Linked DNA regions of Homo sapiens: region 1 is linked to region 2. Evidence: promoter capture Hi-C in human tissues and cell types (Jung and others, 2019). All regions are on one chromosome and are shown on one strand. Each heading gives the region's core, a stretch centred on a gene start or on the middle of the fragment in contact. The rest is flanking DNA. Distances are from core to core; before and after follow the strand shown.

The links. The method cuts DNA at HindIII sites, captures the fragments that hold promoters and counts their contacts. A contact is called where the count stands out against the background at its distance.
Region 1: a contact is called between a fragment that was not itself captured here and the fragment with the promoter of CRKL in region 2, in 1 of the 25 tissues and cell types used here (mesendoderm cells).

What each region holds. Positions count from the first base shown.
Region 1 is chr22:21,053,515-21,059,836 of GRCh38, forward strand. It overlaps LRRC74B (leucine rich repeat containing 74B), which reads left to right. Exons shown (of 10, transcript NM_001291006.2): 7 at 1,584-1,662; 8 at 3,591-3,686. Among named protein-coding and RNA genes, the nearest start is that of LRRC74B, 11 kb to the left of the region's middle. RefSeq lists an enhancer at 2,079-2,611. The HindIII fragment of the contact is 4,911 bases long and covers 1,592-6,322 here.
Region 2 is chr22:20,916,157-20,921,939 of GRCh38, forward strand. CRKL (CRK like proto-oncogene, adaptor protein) reads left to right here and starts at 1,251. Exons shown (of 3, transcript NM_005207.4): 1 at 1,251-2,089. The coding sequence starts at 1,779. RefSeq lists a silencer at 1,168-1,617 and an enhancer at 1,908-1,967. The HindIII fragment of the contact is 23,660 bases long and covers 1-5,783 here.

The DNA.
Region 1 (6,322 bases), core at 2,797-5,296, 140 kb after region 2:
CCATGATCTTGCTGCTGAAGCACACAGTCTACCCGTGATGGGGATTCCCGTGATGGGGCTTGAGCCACAATCCCAGAGCAGCTCTGTCATCCTTATCACTGGAGTTTATAATTTTATTTATTTATTTAAAACAGCATCTTGCTTTATTGCCCAGGGTAGAGTGCAGTGCTGTGATCATGGCCCACTGCAGCCTTGGCCTTCCCAGCTCAAGCAATCCCACCACCTCAGCCTCCCAAGTAGCTGGGACTACAGGAGTATGTCACCAAGCCTGGCTAATTTTTTCTTTTTTGTAGAGACAGTCTCCTGCTGGCCTTGAACTCTTGGGCTGAAGCAGTCTTCCTGCCTCAGCCTCCCAAAGTGCTGGAATTACAGTCATGGGGAGTTCATCGTTGTTACATAGAGACCTGTGATTCCTATAGCACAGGCGGATGGCTGCGAATTGCACACGGTGTATAAAGCATCTCCGGCAGAGCCTGGTGCATGGTGGGTGCTCCATGCAAGCTTTCCTCCCTTGCAGAAGACGAGCCAGGGCCAGGTTCTGTGGCTCACAACTGTAATCTTAGCACCTAGGAAGGCTGAGGCGGGAGGATCCATTAAGGACAGGATTTTGAGACCAGGCTAGGCAATATAGCATGACTCCATCTCTATGCGAAATCTAAAAATTGTCCATTTCCGGTGGCATACACCTATCATTCCTGGTACTTGGGAGGCTGAGGCAGGAAGATTGCTTGAGCCGAGGATTCAGGATTTCAGGCTGCATTGCAACAGAGCGAGTAAAACGAGCCTAGTCTGGGTGGGGCAAGGCAGGACCCTGACAAGTGGGCCCCAGTGCCTGTTTTGCTCAGCATGTGGCTACTGGAGCATGCCCTGTGTGAGGGGCTCCTCCAGGCCAGGCAGCGTCCCAGCCTAGCCAGGAGGCACAAGCCCAGAGGGAAGAAAAGAGGCGGATGCCAGGGAGGTCACGGGCCAGAGGCCAGGGAGGTCATGGGCTGCTGTGGCTGAGACCCTCCCCAGGGGCAGCTCCCTGTGGGCAAGAAGGCCCCACTCAATCCTGCCCAGCTTTCCTCCCCATGGGAGGAGCTAAGACTGGAGGCAGCCGCGGAGGCTGAATACGGAGGTGCAGCCAGAGCTGGGGTCTGAGAAGTCAGAGAGAAGCGGGACTGACTCCGGAGACAAAGTGGTCCAGGGCGGTGCTGAGGACTGGAGTTTGGGAACGGCAGGAGGAGGAGAGGCCTTGAACATAAGCTAGGTGATTTTCTGGAACAGGCGTTGTAATGGTGATAGGCATGAGGTGTCAGCTGGGGCAGAATATGTGGGAGCACTTGCAGAGCTCAGAGGAGCGGCAGCTGGTGTCCACCAGGACAGGGACGCTTTAGGTGTGTTTGCCGTGTGATTCCTCTGAACGGTGTCATCTCCACCTTTTACCTGTTGATCTGTCCAGGGTTCCTGGGGTGTGAGTGGAGGGAACAAGAGACCCAACCTGGTGGCTGCAATGGCAGCTCCAGTGGGCACCCTGGGGCAGTGGGCTCTGCACCGCTGCTTGGAAGGTTGCACAATGCATGTGCCTGTTGTTTTTGTTGCAGTAACAACCGCATCTCTGCGATGGGAGCCCTGAGCCTGGGCCTGGGCCTCCGGGTCAACCAGACGCTGAGGATTCTTGTAGTGAGTGCTAGCCTGATGACTGAGACACCAGCACAGACCTGCCCTGTAACAGTCCACACAGATCCCTCCCCCACAGCCCCCACCCAGGGGCAGCAGGCAGGTGCACACAGGCTGGCTCACTCCCTTGCCACTCACCCTGAATCTGGGGCCTGGCCCTCCTCTTCTCCCCTTCATCCCTCCCAGCCTCTCTCCCACATCTTCTTGCTGCCCTTCCTCCTCTGTGGGCTGGGGTGCTGCTCTGCTGAAGGTGGCTGGGCACCCCTTGTGTCTCCCTCATCTTCTCCCCTGCCTTTCCTCTGGCCTTGCTGAGACCCAGGCCCCACCCAGGTGTTCTGTTGGCCACTGCTCAGGCCCACCTGAGGCCTGGTGTTCCCAGCTGGGGTTCCTTCCCCTGGGTTTGCAGGTGGGGAGGGAGTGCTGAGCAGGACAGGGAGCAGAAGACAGACACAGGAGGGAGGCAAGCCGGGAGCAGGTCCCCAGGGGACCACTGTGCCCACAGCAGGTACGTGCTGGGGGACAGTATTGCCAGCTGGGTATGGACATCCAGCTCTGTCGGCCCTCAGCTCCCCACCCTAGCCTTACTGGGCTTCTCCCATAGCTCTCCTCCCCTGCTTCCTGCCTCACAGGAACCTGGACCTCTCTGAAGCATAGACCTGCGTTTCGAGTCACCTCGTAGACAGTCCTCTAAATGTCCCAAAGACACGTGGGAATGTGAGAGTCCAACCTGAACGCATACCCCCCTCTAAGGGCCACCTCCTGGTGGGGGGCTCCTTCTTCCTTCTTCCCAAGTCACCAGCTGGGGCCCAGAGCCTGCCTGCCCCTCCCTTTTCCACACCCTCCCTCCCACCTTCTGCAGGGGCTCACCCTGCTGACTCCTCCCTCTTCTGACTTCCTCTCTTAGCTTCTGTGAACTTGCGGGATTCCTGGCTGCGGTTCTTTCTTCCCAGCTGCTACCCAGGACCAGAAACATGCCCTGCTTTAAAACTGTTGGAGTTTTATCCCCTCTGGATAAACCCAAGCTTTGAGTGCATCATGTCATGCGGAGCTAGGTGTGGTGGCTCACGCCAATAATCCCAGCACTTCGGGAGGCTGAGGCAGGCAGATCGCTTGAGGTCAGGAGTTTGAGCCCAGACTGACCAACATGGTGAAACCCTGTCTCTACTGAAAACAAAAAGATGAGCCAGATGTGGTGATGCACACCTATAATCCCAGCTACTCTGGAGGCTGAGGCAGGAGGATCCTTTGAACCCAGGAGGTGAAGGTTGCAGTGAGCTGAGATCTCACCACTGCACTCCAGTCTGGATGACAGAGCAAGACTCTGTCTCAAAAAAAAAAAAAAAGTAACATAGCATGTCATGGGGGATCTGGGCTCTGCCAGCCCCTCTCTTCCAAGTTCAGTGCTCTCACCCCAAGCTTGGAGCACACACACACACACACACACACACACACACACACACACACACACGGTACTATTTTTCACCCCTGCCTTTGTTCCTCTGCTGTTCTTGCTGAAGTGTCCAGCTCCGGCCACCTCACCTGGGAAGCTCCGCTGAGCCCTGCCCAGATACACCTCCCCTCCCAGCCTTTCCCTCCCAGGGGAGCTGGTGCACACTCACTCACTGCGCTGATCACACCACATTTCATGATGCTTCCTTTCCCTCCCCTCTCCCCAGCAGGCAAGTTCTTAAAGGCAAGGGTGTGTCTTGTGTGTCTATATCAATCGGAGGCCTCTCCCTTCCTTTCTTCCCTGACCCAGCAGCCTCACCAGAGCATTCTGTCTGACTATCTGATGGAGACACCTTCTGAGCCGAAACAGTGTGGCCATAGTGGCTGTGTCCTCAGAGATGAGGAGCCCCTCCTTCCCTTTCACATTGCTCTCTGGCCTTCCCGGACCTGGCTTCTCGCAGCTTTGTGTGCGTGTTTCTCAGGTGTCCAGGAATCCCATGCGAAGTGAAGGCTGCTTTGGTCTCCTCAAGTCTGTCCAGGACAATCCAGCCTCTGCCCTGGAACTGCTGGATTTCTCAGTAAGAGCATTTTATAAACCTCGTTTCTGATCCTCCCAGCAGCCCTGTGAGGTATCATAATTTTAGAAGAAGAAAGTGAGGGTTACAGAAATCAAGAGCCCTGCCCAGTTACACAGCGTGGCAGAAGCAGAGTTGCAACGGGACTTGAATGCAGGCATGGGGCCACTCAGCTCTGCCCGCTCCAGACTGCTGGTTCCACGGGATCTCACCTGGGGCACCTGCCTGGGTTCTTCATTGGCTGAGAGAGGATAAGTGGAGGTCTGGGCATGATGCTCCCTATCCACTGAGGTTTCGATCTGCAGGCGCAGCACCTGCAAGGCTGCCCTCTGCCCCTCCCCTGACTGTCTGCAGGTGGACTGTGGTGCTGGAAGCTTCACTTGAGTGGCTGTGAGAGAGATTAGGATCCCTTTTCATTCAATTTTGCCACTTTTTTTTTGAGTCAGGGTCTCACTCTGTCACCCAGTTGCAGTGCAGTGGTGTGATCGTAGCTCACTGCAGTCTCAAATTCCTTGGCTCAAGTGGTTCTCCTGTCTAAGCTCCCCAAGCAGCTGGAAGTACAGGTACAGGTCACCATACCTGGCTAAAGTTTTTAGAGATGGGGGCTTGCTATGTTGCCCAGGCTGGTTGCAAACTTCTGACCTCAAGTGATCCTGTGCCATGGTCTCTCATGTCTTGGGTCAATTTTGATTTTTTTTTTTTTTTTGAGACAGAGTCTCACTCTGTCGCCCAGGCTGGAGTGCAGTGGTGCTATATTGGCTCTCTGCAACTTCCGGCTCCCAGATTCAGGCAATTCTTCTACCTCAGCCTCCTGAGTAGCCAGGATTACAGATGTGTGCCACCACGCCCGGCTGATTTTTTTTTTTTTTTTGGTATTTTTTTTAGTAGAGATGGGGTTTCACCAGGTTGGCCAGGCTGGTCTCGAACTCCTGACCTCAGGTGATCCACCCACCTCGGCCTTCCAAGTGCTGGGATTACAGGCATGATCCATTGCGCCTGGCGAATTTTGATTTTTTTAATGTAGAAAAAGTGCCAGGTGAGATGGCTCACACCTATAATCTTAGCATGTTGGGAGGCTGAGGTGGGAGGATCCCTTGAAGCCTAGAGTTCAAGACCATCCTGGGCAACACAGAAAGGTCCCCATCTCTACAAAAAGCTTTTTAAAAAATTAGCCAGGCATGTGGCACATACCCGTAGTTTCGGGTACTCAGAAGACTGAAGCAGGAGGATCACCTGATCCCAGGAGTTTGTGGCTTCAGTGAGCTATGATTGTGCCACTGCACTCCAACCTGGGGAACAGGGCCAGATTCTGTCTCAAAAAAAAAGGGAAGGAAACAAAAAAAATTGAGTTACAAATCAGTGCTGATTCTAACCCTGATTTTTTTCAACCCAGACTTGAGTCAAAGCCTTTCCAGAAATGTGTCTGTGTAGTTTCAATTCTTCAGGTTTGGGACAACCGATGTCAAACGTCCTTACCATTTCCTTCTAATGGCCTGTTCTTGCCTTAACCATGTGCCTGCTGCTCTGAGAATTCCTGTCAGCACTGGATCTGTCATTCTAAAAGAAATAGAATGTCATATGGCATTATCCTGCCTGAATATACACTTACTTGTCACAATGTATGGTCATTATCAGAAGCCCCTAGTCTTGTGGGAATGCCATGGGCTTTGGAATCAGTTCAGGGTTGGGACCAAATCCTGTGTCTATCAATGTGAGATCCTGGACAAGATTCTGAGTCAAAGAATCATAAACGATCAATCAATAACAAGCCTGGGATGGGCATGATGGTTCACGCCTATAACCCCAGGACCTCGGGAGGCCAAGGCAGGTGGATCACCTGAGGTCAGGAGTTCGAGACCACCCTGGCCAACATGGCAAAACCTGTCTTTACTAATAATACAAAAATTTGGCCGGAGTTGGTAGCTCATGCCTGTAATCCCAGAACTTTGGGAGGCCGAGGCAGGCAGATCACCTGAGGTCAGGAGTTCGAGATCAGTCTGGCCAACATGGTGAAACCCTGTCTCTACTAAAAATACAAAAATTAGCCGGGCATAGTGGTATGCACTTGTAATCCCAGCTACTCAGGAGGCTGAGGCAGGAGAATCACCTCCAGGAGAACCCAGAGGCAGAGGTTGCAGTGAGCCGAGATCGTGCCATTGCACTCCAGCCTGAGCAACAAGAGTGAAACTCTGTGTTGTAAAAGATAGAAGAAAAATTAGCTGGATGTGGTGGTGCTCACCTGTAACCTCAGCTACTCGGGAGGCTGAGGCAGGAGAATCGCTTGAACCAGAAAGCGGAGGTTTCAGTGAGCCGAGACCATGCCAATGCATTCCAGCCTGGGTGACAGAGCGAGACTCTACCTCAAAAAAACCCAAAAAACAAAAAAACAAAGAAAAACAATTAGCCTGAATTGAATATTCTATCTTCTATTCCTTAACTGTTGTTATCTGTTATCACTAGTATAATCTGACTAGCCCAGATTTTATTCTGAGCTTTGAGGGAAATAGTTTTGAAGACTTATAGTTCAAGGAAAATCTTTCCCTAGGCTCAGACTTGTGTTTTTGTGAAATGGGGCTAACGTCTACCCCGCAAGGCCATCATGAACATAAGCTGAGATGACAGACCTAAGGGAAAGGCCT
Region 2 (5,783 bases), core at 1-2,500:
TTGAGATGGGGAAATCAAGGCTGCAGTGAGCCATGATAGTTCCACTGCACTCCAGCCTGGGTGACAGAAGGAGAACCTGTCTCAAAAACAAACAAAATAAAACAAACAGGCTGGGCACGGTGGCTCACGCCTGTAATCCTAGCACTTTGGGAAGCTGAGGCAGGCAGATCACCTGAGGTCAGGAGTTTGAGACCAGCCTGGCCAACATGGTGAAACCCCGTTTCTACTAAAAATACAAAAATTAGCAGGGCATGGCGGCGGACAGCTGTAATCCCAGCTACTCGGGAGGCTGAGGCAGGAGAATCGCTTGAACCCGGGAGGCGGAGGTTGCAGTGAGCCGAGATCGCGCCCCTGCACTCCAACCTGGTGACAGAGCGAGACTCCGTCGAAAGAAGGAAAGGAAAGGGAAAGGGAAAGGAAAGGGAAAGGGAAAGGAAAGGAAGAGAGAGAGAGAGAGAAAGAAAAGAAAAGAAAAAAGAAAAGAAAGAAAGAAAGAAAGAAAGAAAGAAAGAAAGAAAGAAAGAAAGAAAACAAACAAAAACAAATAGGGATTAATAAATAGGCAGAAGCAGGCATAATCCGGGGCAGGGGAAGCCTCGGGGCCACGCCCGAGAGGCATTTGTATTTTACTTTCAGCAGTTCAGAGCCCATGATAGCCAGGTTACCCACTTGTGGACTTCCTTGACCACTTAATTGAGTCAATCTAACCCTCACCTTCTCTCTCCTCTCACTCCATTTAGCGGGTCACGTAGCCACTAGGGCTTCCTTAGCCTATCAGGCCACCTGGGGACTGAGTCATTCAGTCAGTCACCTATCTGGTGGTCACATCTGCCCCTGGGCTCATCCTTTTACTGGGCCACCTCGGCCCATCGGGACCTGTCAGTCCTTGACCTCCCTCAGGCCCCTAGGCTGGCCAGGTCGCCTCAGTGCCACGCCTCCCTGGCCCGCGATTCAGCCTGCACGTTACGCTTTGTTCCCAGAAGCAGGTTTTCGAAACGCGGTTCCCTCTCGGCTCCAGCTGTTTTCCTGCCAGCGCTGGGAGACCCGGCAGCCGCAGCGCCCCCAGCGGCGCGCAGCGGCCCAGGAAGAGAGTGCCTACCGCCGGCGCCTCTTCAGCCTCCTCCTGGAACGCGGGAGCGGGCGCGACCAGCGCCCACCCTGATCGTCGCGACGGTGCTCCTGATTGGCTGCGCTGTGTGACGTAACGGGAGGGCCCCGGCGGCCGCCGGGAGCCGGGGCCCAGCGCGTGCGCAGACGGAGCGCGCTGAGCGGAGGGGGAGGTGGCTGCCGCTTCTCCCGCGTCCGCCATTTTGTTGCTGTGGCTATTGGGAACAAGCTGGGCAAAAGCACCCCGGAGGCGCGACGCTCCTTCGAGTTCGGTGCCTCGTGTGACGGCGGGGGTCGGTGAAGACCCGTCGAGCTGCGGCGCCGGCGCGTTCCAGGCCGGGAGTCACTGGAGGCACCCCTGGGACGCCGAGCAGCCCGAGAACCCCGGGGTGGCCTCCGCTGCGGCTCGGGTTTGCCTGCCCCGACCCCCCGGCTCTGCCGTGCATTCCCGGGCGGCTCTCTCCGTGTGGCGGCCCCGGAGCAGGCGGGCGGCGTCGGAGGATGCTGCGGGCCCGGAGCCGAGAGGAAAGTGCTGGCCCAGCCCTCTGAGCGCTCCTCGAGGTGTGCGAGAGGCCCTTCCTCGGCCCCAAAGCCGTCTGCCGGGCTAAGGCGTGCAGAGCAGGCGAGGACAGCCGCCGCCCCTACCGCCGCAGAGTCCCCGGTCCAACACCATGTCCTCCGCCAGGTTCGACTCCTCGGACCGCTCCGCCTGGTATATGGGGCCGGTGTCTCGCCAGGAGGCGCAGACCCGGCTCCAGGGCCAGCGCCACGGTATGTTCCTCGTCCGCGATTCTTCCACCTGCCCTGGGGACTATGTGCTGTCGGTGTCCGAGAACTCGCGGGTCTCCCACTACATCATCAACTCGCTGCCCAACCGCCGTTTTAAGATCGGGGACCAGGAATTTGACCATTTGCCGGCCCTGCTGGAGTTTTACAAGATCCACTACCTGGACACCACCACCCTCATCGAGCCTGCGCCCAGGTACGCGAGAGCCCTCCCCGACCGCGGAGGAAGGTCGAGAACCGGGTCTGTCGAAGAGTGCTTGTATAGGGGGGTGGGGCGCGCTTGAACCCATATTCCCCGCATTCTGAACCAAATTATTTTCCAGAAGGCCTTCCTAACAGAAAGCTAGTGTCAGGATCTGGGTCACTGGATAAGAGGATGCGTTTTTTTTTTTTCCCTCTCACGAGGCTGTTTCTCAATGTGAAGAGGATGCGTTTTGAATGTTTAACGGTGGTTGCATAGTTAAAATGCACGCTTTTTGCCTTTCGTGACTTTCTCTGGGTGTAATACTGATGCAGGGATTTGTTGGTTTTTCTAAAAACCTCTTTTTTTTTTTTTTTTTTGAGACGGAGTCTCGCTGTGTCGCCAGGCTGGAGTGCAGTGGTGCGATCTCGGCTCACTGCAACCTCCGCCTCCCGGGTTCAAGCGATTCTCCTGCCTTAGCCTCCCGAGTAGCTGGGACTACTGGCTCACGCCACCACACCCAGCTAATTTTTGTATTTTTAGTAGAGACGGTGTTTCACCATGTTGGCCTGGATGGTCTCGATCTCTTGCCCTCGTGATCCGCCTGCCTCGGTCTCCCAAAATGCTGGGATTACAGGCGTGAGCCACCACACCCGGCCAAAAACCGTTTTTAAGCCATAGACTTCTTTGAGAATCTGAAGATAGCCGAGCACTCACCACCCCACCCCCACCCCCACCCCCACCCCTCCCCGCCAAAGGCACGTACACACAAGTTTGCACACCATCCCGGGTGCTTGTACTCCCTCCAGATCTCTGAACTCCAGGTTAAGAACTCCAGGACTGCAGCCTTTGGAACAGTCAAAAAAATGAAAATGCTTTAGCGTTTAGAAACAAAAAAACCTTTAACCAAAATATCAGAACTGTATATTGATACTGTGGTGCCAAGTTTGAAGCAGGCCAGACACCACCACTTTTATAGTACGTTAATTACAAAGATAAGAGAAGGTGCATTGGCTTCAGCGAGGATATTTTTTGGAAAATTTATTGCATATTTTCTCCCCGAGGACCATTAGTAGGCCAGAGATCAGTCTGGTTAATTTCCAAGGTGGAATTAGGCTAGAATGTTATTAAGGAAAATTTTTGAATGACACTTAGTTGTATCCTAGTTCAATTTCAGACATGCTTTTTGTGTTAAGTCTAATGATTTTGTATTTCTTATTTTAAAATTAACGCAAAGTGACCAAGCATTCTCTTTTCCAAGTGAAATACGTTATTTTAATTGATTAGTTGCTTTAATTTGCCTTAAGCGTTTTAGCAGAGATTTGCTTTTATTGTTGTGTTTGCCCTGTAACACTGATTTTATCAGAGGTTTCTTTTATTTAAATTATCCCAAATTTGAGTTGAAAAGTTGCCTAGAATTTTTAAAGTAACAAACTGGCCAGTTCGTTTCTTAAACATCTATTTTAAAAGGACTGGGTGTTGATACAGTTTTTCCAGGGTTAGATGTTTATGACTTTATGGATTTGTCGACCGGGTATTACTCTAAACTTTAAACATTAAAAGCTATTATAATTGAGGACACCAACTGTTTGCATAGTGGGATAGAGATAGAAAAAAAAAAGCCATGACAGTATAATGACTACAAGATTAACTACTGAACTAAATGGACTTTAAAAGTGGGGAGAAAGTGATTATAAATCAAATACTGTATAACAAAGACCAGGACACCAAGAATCTGATTGGTGAAACCTGCGGTTCCTGGCAGATGCTGGTAGTTGCAGTCAACTTTGAGCACAATATAATTCCAATTTAAGGAGTTGAGAATCTTAGAACCCACTGTAGTGAGATTTGTAATATGACTGAATAAATTCTTCCTCTCGTTTGTGAGCGTGAATTATATAATTAATACCAGGCATTCATTAAGCCATGCATATGCTTATGTTGAGGTCATGAGTACTAATAATACAGCTGTTTCAAAAAGCAAGTTAATGGGCGGGTGTGGTAGCTCACGCCAGTAATCCCAGCACTTTGGGAAGCCAAGCCGGGCGAATCACGAGGTCAGGAGTTCAAGACCATCTTGGCCAACATGGTGAAACCCCGTCTCTGCTAAAAATACAAAAAATTAGCTGGGCGTAGTGGTGGGTGCCTGTAATCCCAGCTACTCGGGAGGCTGAGGCAGGAGAATCGCTCGAACCCGGGAGGCGGAGGTTGCAGTGAGCCGAGATCGCGCCACTGCACAGCCCGGGTGACAGAGTGAGACTCTGTCTCAAAAAAAAAAAAGGAAAAAGTTAATGACTTGAGTCTCCTTCTAGAGGAAGGAAAAGAAGTATGCCGCTTCTCTCTATCCACAGAATCGCCTCCAGATTTTCCGTACATGCATGCATCTTCTTAGAGAACAAGCATGTAATTCTGTCTTTGCCCTCTTTCGTCCTTCCTTTACTGCAGCTGTACTAGGCTGCTCACTTATTCCCTGGTAGCCATCCTTCCTTACTCATACCTTTGTACCTTTGCACCTTTGCTCCAGCTGTTGGCTCTTCACTGACTGCCTTAACTACACCTCACTCTCCATCTGTTGAAATCCTACCTGTTGTTCCAGTCCCCTCACAGATTATAGGGCCTTTCTCTGACCCTACCCCTCACGTTCAGCTTTGTTTCTCCTTCTCTGTGCCCTCTGCCTCAGGCCTGTTGCTTTAATTTAGTTTTTCATTTTCCTAGGTATCTCTGAAGGAGATCACCATGCTGGTTGAATTAGATCCTGACTGAGTTTACTTTGTTATACTGAATCTTCGAATTGCCACTCCCAAGCCTGGTTTTCATGGCTTAGGTTTAACATGTTATTAGCCTTTTATAGAAAGCTAGTGACTACTAGAGCCTGGGCCAAACGGAAAACTCAGTGTAATGCTTCTTCGCATCCCAAACAGGGTACATTTAGTGGCTTAACTTTGCAGGCATCAAAACTGAGCTTTTAAAGCCAGAGTTTCATGCCTCTTGGCTAATATTTTGGTTTATCTTGCATAGCTAAAATTTGTAACAATAATGTCCTACTCGAAATTTAAGGACTGGTGGCTTGCATTGTTATAGTCTTATCCTTTTCATTAGAATGCTTCATAATTTTTAATTTTATATTTTTATTCAAATGTTTATAAGAGAATTATAACCCAGTGTAACCCAGTGTAGGTACTGGGAAAGATGTGTGACAGACATACTTTCTTCCTGTGGAACTCCTACTGTAGTGGAGAAGACAGACTGAAAAGTAGAAAAATAAAGTACTAGTAAGATCAATATACAGGAGGGACCTACCTGGGGTGGCGTGGTCAGAGAAAGCATGAAGCTAAGACCTGAGGGTAAAGAAGAACCCAGCCTAGGCAAGGCTTGGCCTGAGAGGAGGAGAAGAGCCTTCCAAGTTTAGGGAAAAGCTTATGTAGATGTCCTGAGGTGAGAAAGTCCATTGTGTTGGGAGTGTGTTTCTTTTCTTTCTTTCTTTTTTCTTTTTTTTTTTCTTGAGACGGAGTCTTGCTCTGTCGCCCAGGCTGGAGTGTGCGATCTCGGCTCACTGCAAGCTCCGCCTCCTGGGTTCACACCATTCTCCTGCCTCAGCCTCCCGAGTAGCTGGGACTACAGGCGCCTGCAACCATGCCGGGCAAATTTTTTGTATTTTTAGTGGAGACGGGGTTTCACCATGTTAGCCAGGATAGTCTCGATCTCCTAA